Regions from separate parts of the Homo sapiens genome. Here regions 1, 2 and 4 are each linked to region 3. The links are contacts of gene promoters, found by promoter capture Hi-C in human tissues and cell types (Jung and others, 2019). All regions are on one chromosome and are shown on one strand. Each heading gives the region's core, a stretch centred on a gene start or on the middle of the fragment in contact. The rest is flanking DNA. Distances are from core to core; before and after follow the strand shown. Region 1 overlaps PPM1K (protein phosphatase, Mg2+/Mn2+ dependent 1K). Region 2 has its middle 23 kb from the start of SPARCL1. Region 3 holds the start of PKD2 (polycystin 2, transient receptor potential cation channel). Region 4 overlaps DMP1-AS1 (DMP1 and DSPP antisense RNA 1).

The links. The method cuts DNA at HindIII sites, captures the fragments that hold promoters and counts their contacts. A contact is called where the count stands out against the background at its distance.
Region 1: a fragment that was not itself captured here is called in contact with the fragment with the promoter of PKD2 in region 3 in 1 of the 25 tissues and cell types used here (liver).
Region 2: a contact is called between a fragment that was not itself captured here and the fragment with the promoter of PKD2 in region 3, in 1 of the 25 tissues and cell types used here (hippocampus).
Region 4: a fragment that was not itself captured here is called in contact with the fragment with the promoter of PKD2 in region 3 in 2 of the 25 tissues and cell types used here (H1 embryonic stem cells and bladder).

Annotation. Positions count from the first base shown.
Region 1 is chr4:88,272,994-88,276,345 of GRCh38, forward strand. All of the region lies in intron 3 of PPM1K (protein phosphatase, Mg2+/Mn2+ dependent 1K), which reads right to left. It also overlaps the pseudogene RNU6-112P. Among named protein-coding and RNA genes, the nearest start is that of PPM1K, 9.9 kb to the right of the region's middle. The HindIII fragment of the contact is 6,866 bases long and covers 1-3,352 here.
Region 2 is chr4:87,550,543-87,553,827 of GRCh38, forward strand. No RefSeq gene overlaps it. Among named protein-coding and RNA genes, the nearest start is that of SPARCL1, 23 kb to the left of the region's middle. The HindIII fragment of the contact is 4,755 bases long and covers 1-3,285 here.
Region 3 is chr4:88,005,586-88,008,900 of GRCh38, forward strand. PKD2 (polycystin 2, transient receptor potential cation channel) reads left to right here and starts at 2,050. Exons shown (of 15, transcript NM_000297.4): 1 at 2,050-2,743. The coding sequence starts at 2,149. RefSeq lists silencers at 1,813-2,742, 2,793-2,932. The HindIII fragment of the contact is 15,667 bases long and covers 1-3,315 here.
Region 4 is chr4:87,629,462-87,632,394 of GRCh38, forward strand. All of the region lies in intron 3 of DMP1-AS1 (DMP1 and DSPP antisense RNA 1), which reads right to left. Among named protein-coding and RNA genes, the nearest start is that of DMP1, 19 kb to the right of the region's middle. The HindIII fragment of the contact is 5,656 bases long and covers 1-2,933 here.

The DNA of each region.
Region 1 (3,352 bases), core at 697-3,196, 270 kb after region 3:
CGGGCAGAAAAGAGCTCTCACTAAGTGTAACTTGAGTGTGAACTTGCTCAGGCAACAGCAATGCCATTCAACAGTAAATATTTTAAATGTTAGTAAGATAATTTGAAGTTCTTTATGTAGCTGTAACAGCTTTGGAACTGAAGTTGAGAGGAGATAAGAATGTTTTAATTTCACTTAAGAAAGTTAATATGGTATTGATACAGGAGCTAGAAATAAATTATGTAGGCACATAGTGAGGGTAAAGGAGTCCGTGGCAAGGCTTCCCTTTTAACAAAAAGCAGCCTCCAAACCATTTCTTTTCTAACAAAGAGCAACCTGAAAAATTGAGCTGCAAACATAAATAAGCAAGCTGGAAGCTTGCACAGGTGAATGCCAGCAGCTGTGCCAATAGAAAAGTACTACCTGGGCTGGGCACAATGGCTCACGCCTGTAATCCCAGCACTTTGGGAGGCCAAGGCGGACAGATCACCCAAGGTCGGGAGTTAGAGACCAGCCTGACCAACATGGCAAAACCCCGCCTCTACTAAAAATACAAAAATTAGGTAGGCATGGTGGCAGGCGCCTATAATCCCAGGTACTTGGGAGGCTGAGGCAGGGGAATCACTTGAACCTGGGAGGTGGAGGTTGCAGTGAGCTGAAATTGCACCATTGCACTCTAGCCTGGGAGACTAGAGCAAAACTGTCTCAAAAAAAAAAAAAAAGAAAAAGAAAAGGGCTACCTGGGGCCAAGCATGTTCAATATGTTCCATCTTCCCTTTTCTTTGTCACCATGTGTAAAGAAATGGGCAACATGGCGCTGGCCAGGTAGAGAACCCATCTGCATAATAAAAGATTAGGGTGGGGGTGGCCAGATTCTTGAATGCTCTGCAAATTGCACACCTAGGCCTAATCAGTTTTTCGTGTGCTATGCAAATGGCACATCTGGTCCAACCAATCTTTCATGCCCTATGTAAATCAGACACTGCCTCCTCAAGTTCATCCATAAAGCCTCCTGCACTTCACCATGGACTAGAAAGCTGTTTGGGACCCCTCTTTTTGCAGGAGAGAGCTTTTCTCTTTCTTTCACCTATTAAGTCTCCACTCCTAACCTCACTCCTTGTGTGTCCTCGTCCTTGATTTCCTTGGTATGAGACAATGAAACTCAAGTATTACGCCAGACGAGCAATGCTGCTTCAGTAGGACTGAGCGGCACGCCTCTCTTTTATACCTAAAATCTCACCATTAGTAATTCACTTCTATGGTTTAAGCCTTTTTCAGGTGTCTGCTAACTAAAATTCAAATCCACCCAGGAGTGACAGCTCATTAAAATGCAAACATTTTATAATAATTTGATTAAATCAGCTATATGATAATCAAAGAAAAAATTACAGTAACTTCAGTGAGAAAGAGTCAGCGTGGAGATCTCAGTTCAATCCAAATAATTATTGAGTACCTGCCAGGTTCTATGCAGGGTGCTGCACACTGGAGATTCAAAAATGAATAAGCCACAGTCCTTCACCTCACAGGAAGGGTTCAAGAAGAGGGGAAAGGGGTTAATACTAAAAGAGAAAAGATGAAAGAAACTGGAGAGGGTAAACTGCACTTACTACAAAATTTTGTTTCACTGGCACTGGTCCTATCTATATACATAGGCCGAAAAGAATATTATCCACTCTTATAATACTGATACTGCTTCAGTTCTTGCTAAAAACTAAAGTTTTAAACTTAAATAATAACTTTGAAATTTAAAATGACATTTTAAAAAATCCATAAACTGAACAGTTACACAACATATGGCATTCTATCTTTAGTGGCTTTAATGTATTTGATAAAATAGGCCCTAAATATCAAGACAATTTTTGCCATCTTTGAAGGCTCTGGCAACTTATCAAGAATAAAATTTTTAAATGTTCTCAAAACACTAATTTTTAAAAAACACAGACCGATAAGAATATATACAAAATAAGATTTTAATAACAAATAACAAATTTAATAACAAAATAAGATTTAATAACAATATTATAATAGACCTTTTCTTTTAGTACACACTAAGAGCATCATCTTGTCTTGCTCCATTATACTTTCAAACAAATTACCATTATATGAAAAATACATTTTAAAATATCTTAAGAATGTTCTGGGATCATTACTTCAAAGCATATGATAGAGGAATTAAATTAAATAATGCATTTTAATTTCTTTATTACAAATGAATTGATTTTAGTAAGAATAAAAAATATGGAACTCTTCATGCATTTGTGTGCCATCCTTGCACAAGGACCATGCTGATCTCTGTATCATTCCAATTTTAGTGTATGTGCTGCTGAAGTTAGCATATGAATTACATTTTTGTGATTAATTTCTTTATACAACTGTTTAATGTTTTTGTGACAAAGGTATCTTTAGAAAGTTTCTTTTAAGATAGGCAAGTTAATTAAATTCTTTAAGTTCAAAATTCTGTTGAGTTATACTTCATTCAATAATAAAAGGAGTCCTGTCATATTTTACATCAAGTCAATCACCGATTGGTTTAAGCATCTACATTGACTAGATACTTTTAAAAGAGGCTGATGGCATTGAGAAGGCCAATGTTTTTGGTTGGTGGTCACATGCCTGGGATAAATTTGGACATTCTCATCCAAAAACCTTGCCCAGTAAGCTGCAGCTATTTACAGAACAGCTGGGGCACACCACCGACACTACAGTCAACAAACATTGTGGTGTGAGACATAGCCAGATGCACAGCCAACTCAGTTACTATGAAATAAGAGCATACCAAAATTCAGGAAGTAATAAAAATAAAACCATAAGAAAATATTTCATTTCCTCTTTTCCTTCATGTGTTTTAACTATTTGGAACAAGAGCTAAGTCTTATGCATAAAGTTTACCTCTTTCAGCTTCTGTCTTCTTAAAGGTAAGGGTCCAGTTGAAAGGAAAAAGAAAAATTCCAAAGGAATGAAAGAAAAGAAAATGGGCCTAAATGATCTACAAACTGGAAAACATATCCCTGAAGAGAGTGGACTGTAATGCTTTCCTGAGGAGTGTGATAGTAAGGTTCTCAAAAAAAGCTCAGGAAAAAATCTCAAGATGGTAAATAGAGCCATCGCAGAGTTACCTTCTCCTCTCCTCATGAGAGAAGAGAGATAATGCTGGTGGTCAGGAAAATCCCAGCCCTAACTCTGAACTGACCTTTACCACTCTAATCTTCAGTTCCTTCGCTGTGAAATGCAAACAATCTCTATCCTTATGTATTCCAACTGAAGACTGTGCAAATGACATTTCTGTGGTGCACTTGGTTTCTTTCTTTTTTTTAAGAAAAGGATGAACCAAATACAGATCAAGATTATTGCATGATTCATTTTCAAATCATTT
Region 2 (3,285 bases), core at 690-3,189, 460 kb before region 3:
AAGAATCACTTTACTTAAACATTAATTTGGGCTGGAAAGAACTTTGTGGCTTTAAACCAGATTCCTGATGTTTTAGCCATCTAAATCCCCAAATTTTTGTTAGAATAAATTGTATTTGTTCATTTTTAATTTTATGGAAGTCTTAGGTTCTCTAAGTCCTGGAGCTTGAGGACCCAACTGGCAAGCATGAAGGGCTGGAAAATCCTATTGTTAACTGACAAAATATCTTTTCATAAGAGTTTATGCAAGCTAAAAGAATATATCTGAAGACAGGATTATGTGCTTTTCTACAAAGTTCTCTTACAGTTTTTAAGGGGATGTTAGTGATTAGGATACAGCACTGGTCTTTTTTTTGTTGTTGTTGTTTGTTGTTTTCTTTTGAGATAGTCTTGCTGTCGCCCAGGCTGGAGTGCAGTGGCACGATCTTGGCTCACTGCAATCTCTGCTTCCTGGGTTCAAGCGATTCTCTTCCCTCAGCCACCCAAGTAGCTGGGATTACAGGCACATGCCACCATGACTGGCTAATTTTGTATTCTTAGTAGAGATGGGGTTTTGGCATGTTGGCCAGGCTGGTCTTGAACTCCTGACCTCAGGTGATTTGCCCACATTGGCATCCCAAAGTGCTGGGATTACAGACGGGAGCCACTGCACCCGGCCACAGCACTGGGTTTAAAGGAGATCTTAGAGAAGAATTTGTTCCCCTTAGCAAGCTGGAAACACTTTAGATGCAGGAGATTAACTTGGTTAGGTCATGGTCCTTCCCATTGTGTTATTTCTTAGATTTTTATATGTTTTCTTAAAAGAGGAGAAATATTCTGTCTATATTAATTAAATTGGGAGAAAATGAAATTTACTTTCTATTTACACCCAGTTTCACTCAGAGTAACACCCCAAGTCCTCACATTGGTCTCCAAGTTCTTGAGGCTACGGTGCAGTAACTGTGCTGACCTCATCTCTTGCTATTGTCCCCCCACTCACTTACTCACTCTGCTGCAGAACGCTGGCCTCCCTGCAGCTCTTCACACCCCTCAGACACACTCTTGATGGGGAGCCTTTGTGTTTGCTCCTCCTGCTTGGAATGCTCTTCCCTAGTTTACCTACTTGGCTTACTCTCTCACCAACCTCCTCTTTATTCCAGTTTCTCCTCAATGAGACCTCTCCGCCCACATTATTTAATTCTGAAAACCATACTTTTTCCTTATTCCCTTAGGTCTTAATCCTTCTTCCCTGCCCAAATTTTTTCTCCTTTTTTAAAACATAGAATAATGATCTTTTAACAAACTATTTACTCATTTATAATGCATTGTGTTTATTTCCAACCTGCCCTTGCTAGAATGTAAATTTCTCAGGGGCAGAGATTTTTGTCTGTTTTATTCACTATTGTGTCTCAAGAGTCTAAAACAGTGCCTGGCTCTGTGTGAAGCCACACATCATTGTTGAATAAGCAAGTGGGTTGGTTAAGCATAAGCAGGGACAGAGAGGCTTTTATGAGGAATTTGTAGCTGTCAAAAGAATAGCTTGAAGGCCAGGTGTGGAGGCTCATGCCTGTAATCCCAGCACTTTGAGAGGCCGAGGCGGGTGGATCACCTGAGGTCAGGAGTTTGAGACCAGCCTGGCTAACATGGCAAAACTCCATCTCTACTAAAAATACAAAAAATTAGCTGGGCGTGGTGGCGGGCGCCTGTAATCCCAGCTACTTGGGAGGCTGAGGCAGGAGAATTGCATGAACCTGGGAGGTGGAGGTTGCAGTGAGCCAAGACTGTGCCATTGGACTCCAGCCTGGGGGACAGAGCAAGACTCTGTCTCAGAAAAAAAAAAAAAAAAAAAAGAATAGCTTGAAGACACCCACAAAAGTAGGACAGAAGGAAGGTAAAATGGAGATGGAGGAAACACATACAGATGATCCTTGACTACGATGGTTCAACTCACAATTTTTCAACTTTATGATAATGCAAAAGCTATATGCATTCAGCAGAAACCATGCTTTGAGTACACTTACTGTTCTTTTTTTGACTTTCAGTACAGAATTCAATAAATTACATGAGAAATTCAACACTTTATTACAAAATAAGCTTTGTGTTAGATGATTTCGCTCAACTGTGGGCTAACATAAGTGTTCTGTGTATGTTTAAGGTAGGTTCAGTTTTCTAAATGCATTTTTGATTTAGGATATTTTCAGCCTACAATGGGTTTATCAGGAAGTAACTCCATCATAAATCGAGGAACATTTATATTGCCCTTACAATTTTTTCTAGGGTTTACCTTGCTGACAGATATCTGAGGTATAGGGAAATGCCTGGATATAGGTGCTCAGGGGCGGCTGTTTCTAGTGAATTTTAGGGGAGTGTGTATGTGACAGAGACAAGAGGAAGAAGGGAAGGCATCGCAATGAATATAGCTAAGAAACATCCCATCACTCCCTTGATCTTTTATCCTTCCAACCTTCATGCACTCAACTTTTGTGCTTGTACCTGCAGCACACCATTGGTTTTATTTTTATAGTCAGACAAAGATGACAAACATAAGATATCTCTGGATAGAACTTTAAATACCTCTCAGGGCCATAATGAGACAAAACAACTTCATTTTTACCAAACACAAGACAAAGATGACTGGCTTACCAGACCAAACAATCTACCTGCTCACCTGTGTGGAACTGTTTTAACTCGATATTCCAGTGTGCTCCTGCTGAATTAGAAGAAAGAATGGAAAAGCTACTAGAAGATGAAAAAGTCATGTTAGTTTATGCTTTCCCCAACAAACAGCAGATGCTGCTAGTAAGCATCTTTTATGTGTGCAGCTCGGAGCCTGAGCTCTGTATTTGTTTGGGGGATAGGAATCAGACTGTCTGGGTTTAAATCTTGTTTCCACTACTCACTAGCTGTGTGACTTAAGGAAAGTTATCTGATCTTTTAAATCCCGTTTTACCATGTGTAAATAGCACCGTGAGATTATTGTGAGGATATACATGTGAAGTGTCTAGCACAGTGCCTTAATAAAGAGCATCTATTAGGCCTGCTCTATAATATAGGCAGTTAGGCTGCCTACTTTTTTTTTTTTTTTTTGAGGTGGAATCTCACTCCCATTGCTCAGGCTGGAGTGCAGTGGCATGAACTTGGCTCACTGCAACCTCTGCCTCCTGGGATCAAACGATTGTCCTGCCTCAGCCCCCTGAGTAACTGGGACTACATTTGTGCCACCACGCCAGGCTACTTTGTGTATTTTTTAGTAGAGACGGGGTTTCACCACATTGGCCAGGCTGGTCTCAAACTCCTGACCTCAAGT
Region 3 (3,315 bases), core at 800-3,299:
GTCTTCAGAATGAACTGATGAATAGCATGAGCTAGGGCTGTGCTCCAGACCCACCAGTCTTGCCTTTGAGAAGCTCACAGTTAAGAGAAGAACATGAATATCTAAATTAATAAACTGCAGGATCAGGTAATAGGTAGCCATAATTACCTAAATATTAGCAGCATGTTATATGTGCCTAGAGAACAAATGAATAATTCATTAAGGTGGATGGATGGCATGGGATGCCATGCTAGAGGAGTACATTAAGAGCTGTTAAAGCTAAATTGTGTCCCCCCAAAAATTTCTGTGTTGAAGTCCTAACCCCCATTACCTCAGAACATGACCATACTTGGAGACAGGGTCTTTACAGAAGTAATGAAGTGAAAACAAGGTCATGAGGGTAGGCCCTAATCCAATATGATGTATAAGAATAGACAATTAGGACACAGACGCATACAGAGGGAAGAGGGAAGACGGCGTGAGGACACAAAAGCGGGGCCATCTGCAAGCCAAGGAGAGAGGCCTCAGAAGAAACCAACTCTGCCAACACCTCGTGAGAAAATACAATTTTTCTTTTCTTTTTCCTTCCTTCCTTCTTTTTTTCTTTCTTCTCTCTCTCTCTTTCTTTCTTTATGAGACAGAGTCTCACTCTGTCACTTGGAGTGCAGTGGCCCGATCTTGGCTCACTACATCCTCTGCCTCCCGGGCTCAAGCGATCCTCCCACCTCAGCGTCCCTAATAGCTGGGACCAAAGGCACACACCGCAAAGCCTGGCTAATTTTTGTATTTTTTGTAGAGACAAGGTGAGCAAATAAATTTCTGTTAAGCCACCCAGTCTCTGGTACTTTGTTATGGCAGCCCTAACAAACAAATACAGGAGCAGATTATGAGAATTTACTAAACCAAACCACAGAAATTAAATTTTATCCTTTCAGCTGCCAGAAGCCCACAGAGGTGTCTAAGCATCAACGTGACAAATAAGCAGCTTTGGTTCTGCAATATAACCTGGAAATAGTGAGGACACCGACGTGGAGAATAGAGATGGGAGTTGACAGGGATCAATTGTTCTAATGCGGAATAATGCAAGACATAAGATCAAGCCAGCAGGAGTGAGAAACAGAGATCATATCAGGGTGATATCTGTGGGGCAAAAGTAACAAGAAGATAAGGTGTAGGCGGTGGAGGGTAAACCGCGAGGCTTCCATGAAGAAGAGTGGCCTGGGAAGTGAGGAGGACAGCGAAGCCCCAAACCTCACCTTGGGATACGGGAAGTGAAGCAGGTTCCAGAGAAGGGGACAAGATAATGACTTAGGGTAGGATAAATTTCAGACAATTGCAGAGCATCACATTAGATGTGTTCAGAAGAGTGGAAATAAAGTTCTGTGCCTAGGCCCTCATGCAGGATTCTGTTGCTAGAAGTCAGTGCTGGCCGCAGGGAGACCGGAGATCACAGTGGAGGCACCAGCGATCCGAGAGTCCTATGACGAATCCCTGGGATCCCCACAATGTGTGGAGACAGAAGCCAACCAAAGAGCGAGAAAGCATCTCCAAACCAGCAGAATCAGGGGCAGGAGGCCCGCCAAATGCACAGCAAGTCAGCCTTGGTAGTTTGCAAATGGAAAGATTTCTTTGACCCGCTGGAGACTTCAGCTCAGGCTGGATGTCGCTAATTCACACCATCTCACCAAAAGGTTCTTTCCCTGCCCTTTGGTGAATCGAGGCAGAAGTGGCTGGTGGATAACTGGGACCCAAGAGTTATCTCAGCGTCGGGCAGGCATCGACAGCTCCAGGAGCCCTTTCCCTGCAGGCGGGCTGGCGGGTGAGCGATTCCCTCCCTTCCCAGGCCTTCCCGGGAATGGAACGTGGGCGCCCGCGCCCGGGCTCCGGTTCCACTTGGAACGCGGACTCGGGAGCCGCCGGGCGAGCGCGCAGACCGCGGGGGCGGCTCCCTCGCACCTCCCCGCTCAGCGCGCCGCGGCGGATGGGCGAGGCGGGGCGAGGCCAGAGGGAGGCGGGCCAAAGGGGCGGGCGAGAGGACGCGGGACCGCGGGGAGGTCGGGGGCGGGGAGCAGGCGGCGGCGGGCGCCGGGAAGAAAGGAACATGGCTCCTGAGGCGCACAGCGCCGAGCGCGGCGCCGCGCACCCGCGCGCCGGACGCCAGTGACCGCGATGGTGAACTCCAGTCGCGTGCAGCCTCAGCAGCCCGGGGACGCCAAGCGGCCGCCCGCGCCCCGCGCGCCGGACCCGGGCCGGCTGATGGCTGGCTGCGCGGCCGTGGGCGCCAGCCTCGCCGCCCCGGGCGGCCTCTGCGAGCAGCGGGGCCTGGAGATCGAGATGCAGCGCATCCGGCAGGCGGCCGCGCGGGACCCCCCGGCCGGAGCCGCGGCCTCCCCTTCTCCTCCGCTCTCGTCGTGCTCCCGGCAGGCGTGGAGCCGCGATAACCCCGGCTTCGAGGCCGAGGAGGAGGAGGAGGAGGTGGAAGGGGAAGAAGGCGGAATGGTGGTGGAGATGGACGTAGAGTGGCGCCCGGGCAGCCGGAGGTCGGCCGCCTCCTCGGCCGTGAGCTCCGTGGGCGCGCGGAGCCGGGGGCTTGGGGGCTACCACGGCGCGGGCCACCCGAGCGGGAGGCGGCGCCGGCGAGAGGACCAGGGCCCGCCGTGCCCCAGCCCAGTCGGCGGCGGGGACCCGCTGCATCGCCACCTCCCCCTGGAAGGGCAGCCGCCCCGAGTGGCCTGGGCGGAGAGGCTGGTTCGCGGGCTGCGAGGTAAGAGCGCGCGACCCGCAGCGGCAGATGCACGAACCAGAACGGCCGGCGCCGGCCGGGGCCATCGCCCGCTGCGGCAGCTCCCCGGGCTCCATCTCGCATCCCCTCTGCGTTCCGCCTCCCTTGGAAGCGCATTCCCCACCTCCGCTAGTGCTGCCCTATTTCCGGTACCCAGCGCGGAATTCCACTGCTCTTTTGTTGGTGCATATTTATTGGATACCTCCTTCTTCAGGATATGTCACCATAGTCTTTTTTACTGAAAATTAGTGAAAGCCTAATTAGAGTGAAAGAGTACATCTGGGTTTTGTTTTTTTTTTTCTTGTAGAGGAAAAAATGAACATTACTTGTGTAACTGATGGTAGTTGCAACTGCATATTTGCCAATGTCACAAAATCTAAAGGAAAATGTTATAGTCACCCGTGGTTTCCTTCTTGCCTGGACACTCCATTGTCCCGGGCTGAAAAGGGTAGCAGTACAGTGCATATAATGTCAAGTTGTGGGAGGAGTGTGGCAGATTGTCATTGGTGCATTTTTTTGGTGATGTGTGTGGTTGTTTTGAGGAGTGGGAGCTG
Region 4 (2,933 bases), core at 308-2,807, 380 kb before region 3:
GTACAATGACTAAACCAGTATGCCTGGAGCATAAGTTTCATAAGATTCATAGAGATATTATGAAAAAGAAGATGAGATACGGAGCTAAGAAAAAAATAATGTAGGGCAATGCTCGTTGCTACATTTCAATGGGTTTTGGTTTTTTAAAAATTTAATTAAAAAAACCCAGCAATTTCAAATAGTTTGACCTAAAGTAATAATAAACATGGTCTTGGACAAACCTATTCATTCCTTTAAATTATTCAAGGAAGGAAATGTTATCTTTTTTCAAAATGCCTACAAGGATTCTGTCTGACCCTGATGATAATTAACAAGTACCTAGAGAAAGAAGAGACAAAGAGGTTAAGGAGTGGAAGAAGAAATTGCAAAATTTTAAAAAGTTAAAACAGATCGAGACCATCCTGGCCATCATGGTGAAACCCTGTTTCTACTAAAAATACAAAAATTAGCCAGTTGTGGTGGCATGTGCCTGTAGTCCCAGCTACCTGGGAGGCTTAGGCAGGAGAATCACTTGAATCTGGGAGGCGGAGGTTGCAGTGAGCCAAGATTGCGCCACTGCACTCCAGCCTGGCGACAGAGCGAGACTCCATCTCAAAAAACAAACAAACAAACAAACAAACAAACAACAAAAAAGTTAAAAGCATTAGCAGGCCAGGTGCAGTGGTTCATGCCTGTAATCCCAGCAGTTTGGGAGGCCGAGGCAGGCAGATCACTTAGTCCAGGAGTTCCAGACCAGCCTGGTCAACATGGTGAAACCTCCCCTCTACAAAAAAATACAAAAATTAGCCAGGCGTGGTGGCATGTACCTGTAGTCCCAGCTACTCAGGAGGCTGAGGTGGGAAGATTGCTTGAACCCAGGAGGTGAAGTTGCAGTGAGCTGAGATTGCGGCACTGCACTCCAGCCTGGGTGACAGAGTGAGACCCTGTCTCAAACAAACAAACAAAAAAAGCATTAGTGAAGAAATAGCAATATATTAGACTGTTGAAAATAAGATTAGAAAATATACTAAAATGAGCACATAGATTTCAGTTGATATTTATGTATGTAATTTTATGTACTCAGAAAAGTAACCTAGTAGATATGTAGATATTCTATTACTAAGAAAGGAGAAACTTTTTTTGGTCTTACAATTAATGGGAATGTAAGAATGCTTTGAGAAGGTTACCAGTTTTCATGCCTGTGTTTAAAGAGGACAACTCTAACTTGGTTCATGTGGATTCTTAAACATACCAATCAAACCAAGGACTGCAAACGTGATAATACAATATGAAGCTTAATGCATATCTAAGTGAAATGTTTACCTGTCTTCATAATAATTACTGTCGTTGGGCTGGGCATGGTGGCTCACGCCTGCAATTCCAGGACTTTGGGAGGCCGAGGCAAGTGGATCACCTGAGGTCAGGAGTTCAAGACCAGCCTGACCACTGTGATGAAACCCCCTCTCTACTAAAAATGCAATAATAATAATAATAGTAATAATTACCATTGTCAAAGGTATCAGTGATTATTATGCTTCTGCTCATCAAATTTGGTTAACCTAGAGTGGCAAAACACCATTGATGTAATTGACTACTGGAGAAGTCACAAATCTATTTCAGCTTCACCTTTCTTATTATCTTTTGACATGATGGTGCATTAGATGAATATTTTTATACATATATAAATTTATAGAAATGTATGTATAATCTGGTTTGCCAAAATTACATACTTTAACAGCAAAGTGAAAAATCCTAATTGGTTAAAAAAAAAAAAAAGGCCATGAATAAGGGCTAGGTGCAGTGACTCATGCCTGTAATTTCAGCACTTTGGGAGGCCAAACGGGGAGGAGTGCTTGAGGGCAGGAGTTCGAGACCAGCCTGGGCAACATGTTGAGTCCCCAGCTACTCAAAAGGCTGAGCTTGGAGGGTTGCTTGAGCCCAGGAGTTGGAGGCTGCAGTGAGCTATAATCATGCCACGGCATTCCAGCCTGGGTAACAGAGTGAGGCTGTCTCTTAAAAAAAAATGCCATGAGTAAAAGTAAGGAAGCATTTGGAAGAAAATATGCCCTACCAAGTTTGTCTGTATCCAGAACCAACAACTATTTGGCTGATATTTCATGTTGAGATGCTTTGATGGCATTGCTTTACTGTCTTATTAAATTATGTCAATGGAAGGTTTTCACACATCTTTGTCGAGGTTGGACTGGTTTGCCACCGACAGATGACTTATCTTCAGAGTAAGCTACTCTTTTCTAGACCAATCTTTTTCCTTTTGCTAATTAAGAATTGACTCCTCTGGAATCCTTTTATTGACCATGAAGGGTGGTAGGAAGGAAGTCTCAAGGAGAAAATGTTGGAGAACTGATGTGTAATCTATTCTAAGCATTATTTAAAGTTGGCAAAGAAAAATGTGGGACATAGTGTTCTCAGTGTTAGCCATTTTTATTCTACTAGCAATTTTCTCCAAAATCAGAACATCTTGAGGTCTCCAGATTGGAAAAGAATCAATTTTTGTGGCAGAGTGAAATCAACCTTTTTCAAATAACCAAGCTGTGGTGTTGTAAATTCAAAAATAGTCTCCAAATAGCTGCAACTTTCAACTGTTCTTACAAATAAAAACATTTTTAAAAAACCAGTTTTATCCACTTCCAAATCCTAAGACAAAGAATTAATTAAACTACCTTCATGGAAAAGAGACAAACATTTTTAAAAATCAAATGCATTCTGACATAAAAACATTACAAACACTTGCTTACTTAAGATTAGAAAAACCAACCAAAGTGATGCCCATAAAAATGGTGAAATTACATTATGAGCCTATGGAAGAGCTGATCTTAACTATCATATTCAGTATTAATTTTTTGAAAACAATATTTGTCTTAAAGACTTTTCACTATTAAATATAATCCAACCTTAACAAACATTTAAAACAAATGCTTGTGTAACCACCATGG